Regions from separate parts of the Homo sapiens genome. Here regions 1 and 3 are each linked to region 2. The links are contacts of gene promoters, found by promoter capture Hi-C in blood cells and fetal thymus (Javierre and others, 2016). All regions are on one chromosome and are shown on one strand. Each heading gives the region's core, a stretch centred on a gene start or on the middle of the fragment in contact. The rest is flanking DNA. Distances are from core to core; before and after follow the strand shown. Region 1 has its middle 9.3 kb from the start of LINC02437. Region 2 holds the start of CENPU (centromere protein U). Region 3 has its middle 21 kb from the start of MIR4455.

The links. Contacts are between HindIII fragments. The CHiCAGO score rates a contact against its expected background, and 5 or more counts as called.
Region 1: a contact is called between a fragment that was not itself captured here and the fragment with the promoter of CENPU in region 2, in 2 of 17 cell types (neutrophils and M0 macrophages). The highest score is 7.8, in neutrophils.
Region 3: a fragment that was not itself captured here is called in contact with the fragment with the promoter of CENPU in region 2 in 1 of 17 cell types (neutrophils); the score reaches 5.8 in neutrophils.

What each region holds. Positions count from the first base shown.
Region 1 is chr4:184,978,335-184,981,707 of GRCh38, forward strand. No RefSeq gene overlaps it. Among named protein-coding and RNA genes, the nearest start is that of LINC02437, 9.3 kb to the right of the region's middle. The HindIII fragment of the contact is 2,311 bases long and covers 264-2,574 here.
Region 2 is chr4:184,731,500-184,735,345 of GRCh38, forward strand. CENPU (centromere protein U) reads right to left here and starts at 2,597. Exons shown (of 13, transcript NM_024629.4): 1 at 2,517-2,597. The coding sequence starts at 2,563. RefSeq lists enhancers at 2,037-2,903, 2,054-2,173 and a silencer at 2,544-2,603. The HindIII fragment of the contact is 4,927 bases long and covers 23-3,846 here.
Region 3 is chr4:184,957,104-184,960,825 of GRCh38, forward strand. No RefSeq gene overlaps it. Among named protein-coding and RNA genes, the nearest start is that of MIR4455, 21 kb to the left of the region's middle. RefSeq lists a silencer at 427-590. The HindIII fragment of the contact is 2,716 bases long and covers 494-3,209 here.

The DNA of each region.
Region 1 (3,373 bases), core at 169-2,668, 250 kb after region 2:
TCCGCCCTCCCCGAGGTCCCAGTGTTCCGTCCTCTTTCTGTCTCTAACCTTCCACAGACCGAGTTCCCTGAACCCTTCTCTTAGCCTCGCCCTCTGCTCCTGGGAGACAGCCAACATGGATGGAGTCACGTCTGCTTATATCTTTAGCCAGGACTCACTAGAATGTTCTTATCCTTCTCAGGAAATAGGTTTTTTTCTTGTGCAATATTATTTTCTACTGCCCCCATCTCCAATTTGAAAAGTAGCAGGTGCTCATTATAAAAAGCTTCCAGTTTAAAAAATGTTGTAATATTATTTTAATCTTTTTTAGTGTTACATAAGAGCTGTACAAATCTTCAGGGCATATGTGATATTTTGACACATTGCTATATTGTGTAAAGGTCAAGTCGGGGAATTGGGTTATCCCTCACCTTAAATATTTATCTTTCCTTTATGCTGGGAACATTTCAATCATTCTCTTCTAGCTATTTTGAGTTGTGCAGTAGATTATTGTCAAATATGGTCACTCTACTGATCTATCGAACACTAGGTCTCATTTCTTCTATCTGACTGCATATTTGTACCCATTGATCAATGAGAGTTTATACATTTTCTGTATTATATTGGGGACCCGTCTGTTGTGTTCTGGGGCCTGCCCCATTCACAGCTGTCCCAAGGGGGTTTCTTACCCACAGTCTACTGAGCTGTGTGTCTGTTGACTCTGCCCCTGCCCTTGCCCGCTGGATTGACCAGGGCGGTCCCACAGTCACTCATGCTTTGTGGTGGGATGCAAGAGGCAGCAACAGTACTGCCCTCACTCACTTCTGCAAAACACTCGTGGCTGCTACCTTCTGCGTGCCAGGATTCCCAAAAGCCTCATGGACACTCTTTTAAAGCACTGCCTCCAAAGAAGGCCTTCTAAAAATACACGTGTGATTTTAAAATGTTCATGCACTTGGATCCCATGATTCTACTTCTGGAAATGTATCCAAAGGATATACTCATAGATATTCAAATAGAGACCTGTAAAAGGGACTTTCTGTGTGACATTATTACTTTTCTTGGGTCAGATTTCTTCTATGTCTATTTCTTGTTTCATGGCAAACTGTGGGTGAGAAGCCCGTCCGCATGGCTGTGAATGGAGCAGGCCCTGGAACTCAACAGATTGGTCCCCAAAATAATTCAGAAAATGTATACACTCTTGTTGATTAATACACAGTTAGATAGAAGGATCCAGAAGTAGCTTGGGTGCCAGCATCCTGTCAGCCCCAGGGCAGAGTGCCTGTCTCAAAGGCAGCAACCCCGGCTGGCGTGGCTGCAGCGTGGGCTCCTGTAAGGCTCTGCCCTGACTGCACTGCACTCAGGCCCTCTTGTCGGGAGCTGAGCGACGAGACACGCAGGACCGTCTCGCAGGACTGAGGGGTGCAGGAGAGCATTTGCCTACGACCCGCAGAGGGAAGGAACGAAGCAGAAGCCACAGAAGAGAAAAAAGGGAAGGGGAGGGTTTAGCTGGTGGGAGCAGAAGGAGAGAGAAAGAGAGAGAGAGAGAGAGAGACAACACTAGACTCCCAGCTTCATGAGGGAAGCGGCCAAGTGTGCCTTGTTCACGTCCACATGCCGGGAGATAAGCCGTGCCTGGCAGATGGAAGTCACTCCTTCAGAGTTTGTGGACTGATGGACAGACGGAAGAGAGAGCACAGAGCAGGCAGGGTGTCTGGAAGCCCCCCCGGGCCTGCAGCCTGCTGCTCCTGCAGATCTCTGAGGGGCTGCTGTTGCCATCATCCACATGGCCCCTTCCAGCCTCCTCTGCAGACAAGATTCCTTCCTGCCTTCCTTGTTGTCCCGCAGCCTCTTACGGTCAACCTCATCATGTAAGAGACCTGGATGGTTTTCTGGTTCCTGACAGCTCAGAGACCCCAACAGAGAAATGGTCAAGAAAGAACAAAGTAAAAGTCCTCCACGAGCCAGAGATGACCATTGTTTCCTCCTGAAAGCGTATTGTTCTGTGTTCTGCTTTTTAACACTAAACAAGTGAAATATTTCCACGCCACAAGTAGCCTTTCAAAATGCAATGTCAGTGGTTACATTTGGTTGCTCCATTCTTTAGGGTATCAGATGTTAGATGTTAGACATTCTGGTTTTTCTTGGAAGCTCGCTCTGTAAATAAATGATTCAACTTCTGGAATCATTCATGTGAAGACCAACATTCATTTGCATGTCTGCGCCCTGTGGTCCACACAGACCTGCACATGAATGTTTTAGCTGCTTTATTCCTGATTGCCAGACACCAGAAACAACCCAAATGCCCACCGATAGGAAAATGGGTCAACAAACTATAGGACAACACAATGGAATACTACTCACCAATAAAAGGAGCAAACAACCCATGAATGCAATACCATGGATGCATCGAAAAACATTTGCTAAATGACAGAAGCCAGGTGCAGATGGCCACACCTGTAATTCCATTTGTGTGACGTTCACAAAAGGCAAAACTACAAGCTGCAAAGCAGATCAGCGCTGCCAGGGGCTAGGGATTGCGGCAGGGGATTGACCACAAAGGGTAGCATGGGTGAACTTTTTGGAATGATGGGAAGCTTTTTTATTATGGGGGTGGTTACATGACTGTATACGTTTGGCAAAACTTATCCAGCTGTCTACCTTATAAGGATCAATTTTATTGTATGTAAAGTATACCCCACCTAAATCTGACCCGAGAAAAATAATAATGTAATGTAGAATATTCCTTTTATGGATCTCTATTTGAATATCTATGAGTATATCCTTTGGATATATTTCCAGAAGTAGAATCATCGGATCCAAGTGCATGAACATTTTAAAATCACACGTGTATTTTTACAAGGCCTTCTTTGGAGGCAGTGCTTTAAAGGAGTGTCCACGGGGCTTTCAGGAATCCTGGCACATGGAAGGGAGCAACCACGAGTGTTTTGCAGAAGTGAGGGAGGGCAGTCCTGTTGCTGCCTCTTACATCCCACCACAAAACATAGGCGACTATAGGACCTCTCTGCTTCCTGACCTCTGAAGTGTCAGGAATAAGCTGCCTCATTGACTCCCATCACTCCACCCCAAAGGCCAGAGCTCAGCACTGCCCAGCGTGGTACAATTGAACTTCCTGCCATGGCGGGAACTGTTCTGCATCTGTGCTGTCACATACACTAGCCACAAGTCACTACTGAGTACTGGAAATGTAGTTAGTACAAATGAGAACCTGAATTTATTTTTTTCAAGTTTTGTTAATTAAAAATTAAATTTAAGGCCAAGCGCAGTGGCTTATGCCTGTAATCCCAGCACTTTGGGAAGCTGAGGTGGGGAGATCACTTGAGGTCAGGAGTTCGAGACCAGCCTGGCCAACATGGTGAAACCCCATCTCTAG
Region 2 (3,846 bases), core at 1,347-3,846:
AGTTGTATATATATCTTCAACAAGCTTCAAGAAAACAAATGTAACAATGGTGACAAGAATAAAAACGGGAAATAACAGTGGCAGGATTATATATCATTATTACTAATAATAGTGCCAGCAGTCAGTGAATATGTACAGACTATCCTCCACCAACCAGGCATCGTACAAGGGTACGGGGGGGATACTCCAGGAGAATACAGTACATAATTAGACTTTAAAATATGCCATGCAGATTGCAGCCATATTTTTCTCATTTGTAGACAGCAAAATCAGCTTAGTCTAAACCAATGTTTTAGTATCCTTTTATCTGATATAATTTCAAGCTCACAGAAAAGTTGCAAACATAGCACAAGGACCTTCTGTATGCCCTTTACTCATGTGCTCTGTGTGTGTGTGTGTGTGTGTGTGTGTCTGGAGATACTGTGCACTTCCACCCCTAAATACTACAATATGTCTTTCCTAAGAGGGCATTATACTGCATATTCATGGTACAATTTCTAAAATCAAGAAATTTAACACTGATACCATAATCTAATCTACAGTCCATACCCAAATCACATCAATTGTCCTATAATGTCTTTTAAGATTGCCAGGCCAGCATTTTTAAAAAAACAAACAATAAAAAAGGAAAATATAAAATGAAGCATTGCACTGGATATACTATGTTCACAAGCCTTTTGTTTTATGTGTGGATGTGTGCACACGTGTACTAAGTGTGATGTAAAACATCATTACTGTGAATCACAGTTAAAAAAAAAAAGTTAGAAAACTGTTCAGAGCGGTGGTTCCCAGACTTGAGTGTCATCAAAATTCTCAAGAGGGCTTGTTGAACAGGTTGCTTGGCACCACCCCAGGAGTGTCTGATTCAGTCCCTCTGGGGTGAGGTCTGGGATTCTGCATTTCTAACAAGTTCACGATTTATTTATTTAATTCATGAAACCTAAGGAAGCAGGTAAGACAAGTATTGGTTTTATGGCAATTTTATAGATGATGATTCCGGGATTCAGAAAATTTAAGTGACTTATCAAGGGTCACATAGCCAGGTAACAGAAACCCAGCTACACACTAGACCACATAAACTTCTTAACCTAAACTCTTTGAGCTGTCTTGTCCTTTCTTGGGGGGGAAAAAAAGTCAAGGTTCCTCCTTGCCTTACGCTGGAGTCAAGGTGGGGCTTCTGAGAGACAGAAACCTCTGTGACAACCCACAGGTAAAATTTCTGGGCCAGGCGCGGTGGCTCATGCCTGTAATCTCAGCGCTTTGGGAACCCCAGGAGGGCGGATCACGAGGTGAGGAAATCAAGACCATCCTGGCCAACATGGTGAAACCCCGTCTTTACTAAAAATACAAAAATTAGCTGGACGTGGGGGCGAGCGCCTGTAATCCCAGCTCCTCTGGAGTCTGAGGCAGGAAAATCGCTTGAACCTGGGAGGCGGAGATTGCGCCACTGCACTCCAGCCTGGGCCACAGAGTGAGACTCCGTCTCAAAAAAAAAAAAAAAAAAAAATTCTGTTGTATGTGCGTAAGTGTGTTTTGGGAGGAGGCATGAACAGATTTCATGAGTCTCAAACCCAAAAATGTTAAAAGATAAAAATAAAAAAAGACAACAAAAACCACTAGCCTTTCAGATAAACTCTTTTCAGCTGACATTGAAGGCTGACATTCTCTTCTAATCCTTTTTTGCACTGGGGGAGTCTTCATTCTCCTCCACTGGCCACAGAAGTCTGGTCTCGGTTTCCCCACCCACCTGCGGTGTCCTGCTCCAGCTTTTCCACCCTAACCCCGCATCTACCAGCACCTCCTCCTCCAGGCAGCCTTCCCAGGCCCGGGGGAACTCCTGTTCTCTTCAGATCGTCTTGGCGTATGGCTTTGTGCACCGTCTGCAGCAAGCCGAGACCCTTCCCGCCAGATCCAGGCCGGGCCTTGGATGGCCATTCGCCAACGAATCAGCGACCAGCATTCTAGAGCGCGTTTTGCAACCGACCAAACGCTCGCTTTCTTTGGTAAACAAAAACCGCTCGAGCCATCCTGGAGAACCGCAAGCGGCAGCTCGGTCCCCCAGCCGGATTTATGCTCCAGTTTACGGTCTGTGGTTTGCAGTAAGAAAACACCAGGGTCTTCAAAATAAGAAAACTGATTCCCAGTCAGAGAATAAAACTCCACTAACAAAGTCTGGCAAACCGCAGGCAATACGTATTTGCTGAATATTTTGCTTTCAAGCTAGCACTTTGAGACTCACTACTTTGGACGGCACTCCCCCTCCCCACAAAACGACACGACACTGGCTGACGTCTCTCCCACCCGCCAGGCAGTGTTAGGCCCCGACAGGCCCGTGCAGGTGGGATCACTGTTATCCCCACTAGACTGAGGAGGAAGCCGGGGACCCGGGCGATTGGCCACTCGGGCGACCTCCACAGTGGAGCACCAACAGCGCCGGGAGGCGCAAACCACGGCAGGCGAGGAAGCAGTTCAAGCTGGTCTCCGGCCCCGCGCTCCCGAGGGTCGGCAGTACTTACCCCTCAGACCTGTGAGGCCGCGGCCGCCGCCGCCCCCGCGGGGCCATGGTGCCGCTCTCCGCTCTCGAGCGACTGGAAGCTCCCGCCAAGCCCCTCGCCGCTCCGAACAGCCAATCCGGGCCGAGCACGCGCGCGTGCGCAGGACTTCCTGAGCGGCCCCCGGGCTCCTCCCTGGCCTGGAGCGTGAGGGAAAACTGGGTCTGGTTATTACAGCGCAACGGAGCTGGAGTCCATGCCGCACAACCAGTTACCTACGGTCCAAAACATGCCAAAGTTTTCCGGGCTTTCGCGCCCACCCGCATCGCCAGTTTTCCGGCGCCAGAAAGCCCGGGAGCCACGTGGGACGGCCCCTTGTGGGGTGGGGAAAGGGGAGGAGCTAGTGTCCCTGAGTCGTGGGCAGGTAAGAGGGTGGGTGGAGACCCGTGTTCGCAGCTGTTGTCGCTGAGGCCGCAGTCGTCTTTCCAGGCCTACAGGATTTGGCTTCCAGCCCCTGCTGCCTTTATCAGCTGTCTGAGCTTAGCATGTTACTTTACCGCTATCCCAATACCTTCATTTGTAAATGGACAGGGTTCCTTTTGTTCTTTTATTTTGTTTGTGTTTAAAAATGTGTAATGCAGAAGAATGTAATTGAACCCTTACCTTACACCGCGTATAAAAATTAACGCAAAATGAATCAAAGACCTAACTATAAAGGCTAAAATTAAAACTCTTAGAAGAAAACAGAGCAAAAACTTCATAACATTGGACTTGGTATGATTTCTTGGATATGATACCAAAAGCAGTTTGGGATGATGAAAACGTTCTGGAAATAGTGGTGGATGGATGCACAAGGTGAAGGTACTTAATGCCACAATACTGTAAAGTTAAAAACGGTTAAAATGCTAAATTTTGTTATGTATATTTTACTACGACAAAAATATTACGTTTCATGCATATGAAAGAATATAACGTGTAATGTAAAGATAAAAACAAACATCCGTGTAACCAGCACTACATGGGGATATGGATCATTTTTATATATAACTCTTGGGTACCCCTCTGAATGGTATCCTCCTCCTCCAAAGAATAACCACTCTTCTGATTTTATGTGTATCATTCCTGTGGTTTTCTACCTTGATATAGCCCCAAATAATGTATTGATTATTGTATGTTTCTAAACTTTATATGATATTTGGTAGGTATGCTGCAAGTGCCCTTTCTTACTAAAGCTATTGCTTTTATTTTTTATTTATTTTATTTTTCCATAAATTATTGGGGTGCAGGTGCTATTTGGTTACATGAGTAAGTTCTTTTTTTTTTTTTTTTTTTTTTTTTGAGTTGGAGTTTTGCT
Region 3 (3,722 bases), core at 602-3,101, 220 kb after region 2:
TACATTGTAATATATAATTAAATAATTATACAACTCATGATAGTATAGAATCAGTGGGAACCCTGAGCTTGCTTTCCTGCAACTAGATGGTCCCATCTGGGGGTGACGGGAGACCGTGACAGATCATCAGGCACTAGATTCTCTTAAGGAGCACATAACCTAGATCCCTTGCATGCGCAGTTCACAAAAGGGTTCACTCTTCTTTGAGAATCTAATGCTGCCGCTGATCTGACAGAAGGCAGAGCTCAAGCGGTATGTGAGTGATGGGGAGTGGCTGTGAATACAGAGGAGGCTTCACTCGCTTGCCTGCTGCTCACCTCCTGCTCTGCAGCCTGGTTCCTAACCTCCTGGTTCTGGGTGTTGGAGACCCCTGCTATAAAGGAACACCTGCGGCTAGGCAATTTGTAAAGAAAAAAGTTTGAATTGGCTCACGATTCTACAGGCCATACAGGAAGCATGGCACCGACATCTGTGCCACTTGAGGGCCTGAGGAAGCTTACAAGCAATTGAGGGAGAAGGGGAAGGGGGAGCAGGTGCATCCTATGGTGAAAGCAGAGTGAGAGAGAAGCTGGAGGTGCCGCACTCTTTAAACAACTAGATCTCACACGAATTCACTCGCTCTTGCCAGGATAGCACCAAGCCATTCAAGAGAGATCAGCCCCTATGACGCAAACACCTCCCACTAGGCCCCACCTCCAACACTGGGGATCACATCATGAGACTTGGAGGGATACACATCCCGATGGAACAAGCGGCTGCTATGTGTGTGAGGATCTGGAGAAGCAAGAAGGGCCTTGCTCCCCTGGAGCTGACACTGCAGTGGGAGAGACAGCCGTAAATGTGCAGACAGACAGATGCATAGCACAGTGGTAGTGATAGCTATGTGTGCGGAATGAAATGGAGCGGAGGACGGAGAGGGACTGGAACAAGCAGCAGAGCTTTCACAGAGAATCCATCTTGCCCATCACTCATGTCCTACAGCACCCAACACATCACTGAGCAAGTTTATTAGGCCCCCGTGCTGCCCAACTTGCTTCCAGAGGCCTTGAAGGACACCAAAGAAGACGCATGGGATGCAGCTGGAGGCCAACCCTCAGAAAGCTCACCCTTTAGTTGGCAAGCCATGAGCACATAATTCTAGAAAGCGTGTAATTACATGCCCCGCGCTGTTGGTGTGGGGCTAATTCCAGGTGTGGCTGAAGGTTGCCAGAGGTGGCGACCATCTCAGCAGGAGGTGGGTAGGGAAGCCTCTGAGAAGAGGTGGCTCCTAGACATTGCTCTAAAGGCATGTTAATGTGAGGTGGAAACAGGCCCGGGTGCAGAGCAGCAGGCTTTCCCAAGACTTCATGGCTATTTATGAGGGTGGCTGAGATGTTTGGACCTAGAGAGGTTGGATACCCAGAGCTAGCCAGAGAAGCAGAGGAACACTGGGGGAAACAGACACACAAGCTCTCACCTCGCCTGTGCTGCACACTAATTTTAGAGCCTCAGGCATGTCATTTAATCTCTCTGTGCTTTAATGCCTTCCCCCTTAAAGGAGGGATAATAATTTATGTCAGCCTCTCCCCAGGGATGGTATAAGGGGAGAAAGGAGATAATAGCTGGGAACATGATTGGGATAATAAAGAGTAACAGGAATAAGCCTATTATTAAGTATTAATGTTATGATTTTGCAGCTCACAATTGGCAAGCTCCCTGAATAACTATACCACGAAGAATCTTGAAGCTGTGGCTTCTCTGTGGGCACTTTATCTTCAAACCCATCAGATTCCATAGATACTAAAACCCCGTGTTCGAGGTTTTATTTTCTACTATATGATTTGAATGTTCATTAACTGCTTAAACCTTGCAGCTCCTTCCAAGTGGCTCCTGAATACTGCTTGGGGTTGCTTGAGCACGACGTTGAATAGGGCCCCGGAGATACCCGCCCTGATGTAAGCTACACAGAAACGGGAACTACCGCACACTCTAAAGTCTTTCCCATATTTTGAGTGTGAAAGCAAATTGTCATTGCATTTTGGAATGAACCCAGGGCTCTGTGTCTCCAGCCAGGGTGCTGGGGCAGCGGTGAGTAGAGGCGGGTTGCAGGGATGGTCTTCCTTGAGCATCACTTTAGTTCATGGAAAATAATTTGAAAGATTATGATATTAAGTCAGATGTGTTTAACTCAGTGTCTCTGGCCTCTTTAGACACAAGCCTGTGTCTAAAAAGTAAATTATCCTTCTCTTTTCAGATGGAAGTGATGATGTCGTGAGCTCACACCAGGCTGCTTGCTGGAACTTCCGTGAATGCTCCAGCACGCTGCCCACGGTACTCTGGGACATCTCGCTTGGCTTCACTTTTTTATCTGTGTTGTCTCCGGCCTCTGTACCTTCATGACAGGTCTGCCCGGTGGGGCCCAGCTGATGCCCCCCACTGCCTCCCACCTGCAGCCTGGTGGCCAGGACATCCACCTCTCCCATCCCTGCAGCTTGGCTGAGATGATGAGCTGATGTAAGCACGTGGTGCTGAGCCTTGGGGCTAGCTGGAGGACCACACAGAGCGTAAGAGATGCCTGCACTAAAAGGGCTTGGCTGCCCTCACAATTGCTGTACTGCCCGCAGCAGGCTTCCCTCCATGGACACAGGCGCCACCACCCACACCCCACCAGGAAGAATCCCCAGGTAGCTCCACACCTTGGAATGAAGGCCAAGCAAGCTGCAGAGAGGAAAGCCTTACTTTCCCCAGTCTCAGTCCACTTCTTTTTGTACTCTGGGATTAAACTCTTTTCAGGATGACTAACAGTGGAAGCATCTATTTGTTCAGAAGGAAACAGCCACTCCGACCCACAGGTTCTGGTCTCTGCCGGCCGGTGCCAGTCAATAGAGTAACTGATGATGAATTTCACAAAGCCCAGTCCATTCCGTCTCAGATGCCAATAAGAATCCGTCCAGGCCAGGTGCAGTGGCTCGCGCCTGTCATCCCAGCACTTTGGTAGGCCAAGGCGGGAGGATCATTGGAGCCAGTAATTCGAGACCCGCCTGGGCAACGTAGGAAGACCCTGTTTCTACAAAAAGAAAAAGGAATCCGTCCAGGAGGACAAACGCTGTCAGCTCCAATTCTAGGAGGTACATGGAGTAGTCACATTCATAGAGACAAGACATAGATTGGTGGTTGTCAGGGCCTGGCGGGAAGGGGAGGGGGAATTAGGGTTTAGCAGGTACAGAGGAAGCTTCAGTTGGTTGGATGAAAAAGTTTTGGAGCTAGGGCACGGTGATGGCTGTACAAAAATGTGAGTGTGTATCAGGCCACAGAACTGCACACTTAAAAATGAATACAATGGGGACTTTTATCTTATGCACATTTTATCACAATTTTAGCAAATCAGTCCAGGTTGCACCATGCTGCATCTGGACTGTTCTTGTCACCATCTCTCTCCAGTGTGAGGCGAGATAGAGGCCAGATCTGGGGGCAGAGTCCAGCATTGGCTGCAGGCCTCCTGTGAGCAAGCTTAGACCAAAAGGCACACAAACATTTCCCAAGAGCAACAACAGTTTCCTGCTCAGGCCAAGTCTGCATGTGGGGAGAAGAACAAAATATTTCTCCGAACTCTGCAGGGTGCAGTTCAGCGGGCACTCTCAAATGCACTCAGGGCGTGCAGGGGGCCCCAGGAGAATAATGAACATGCCTCGAGTTCATGGCTCCCAAAGACCCCGCCTGGTTCATTTTCTCAAAACAAAAGA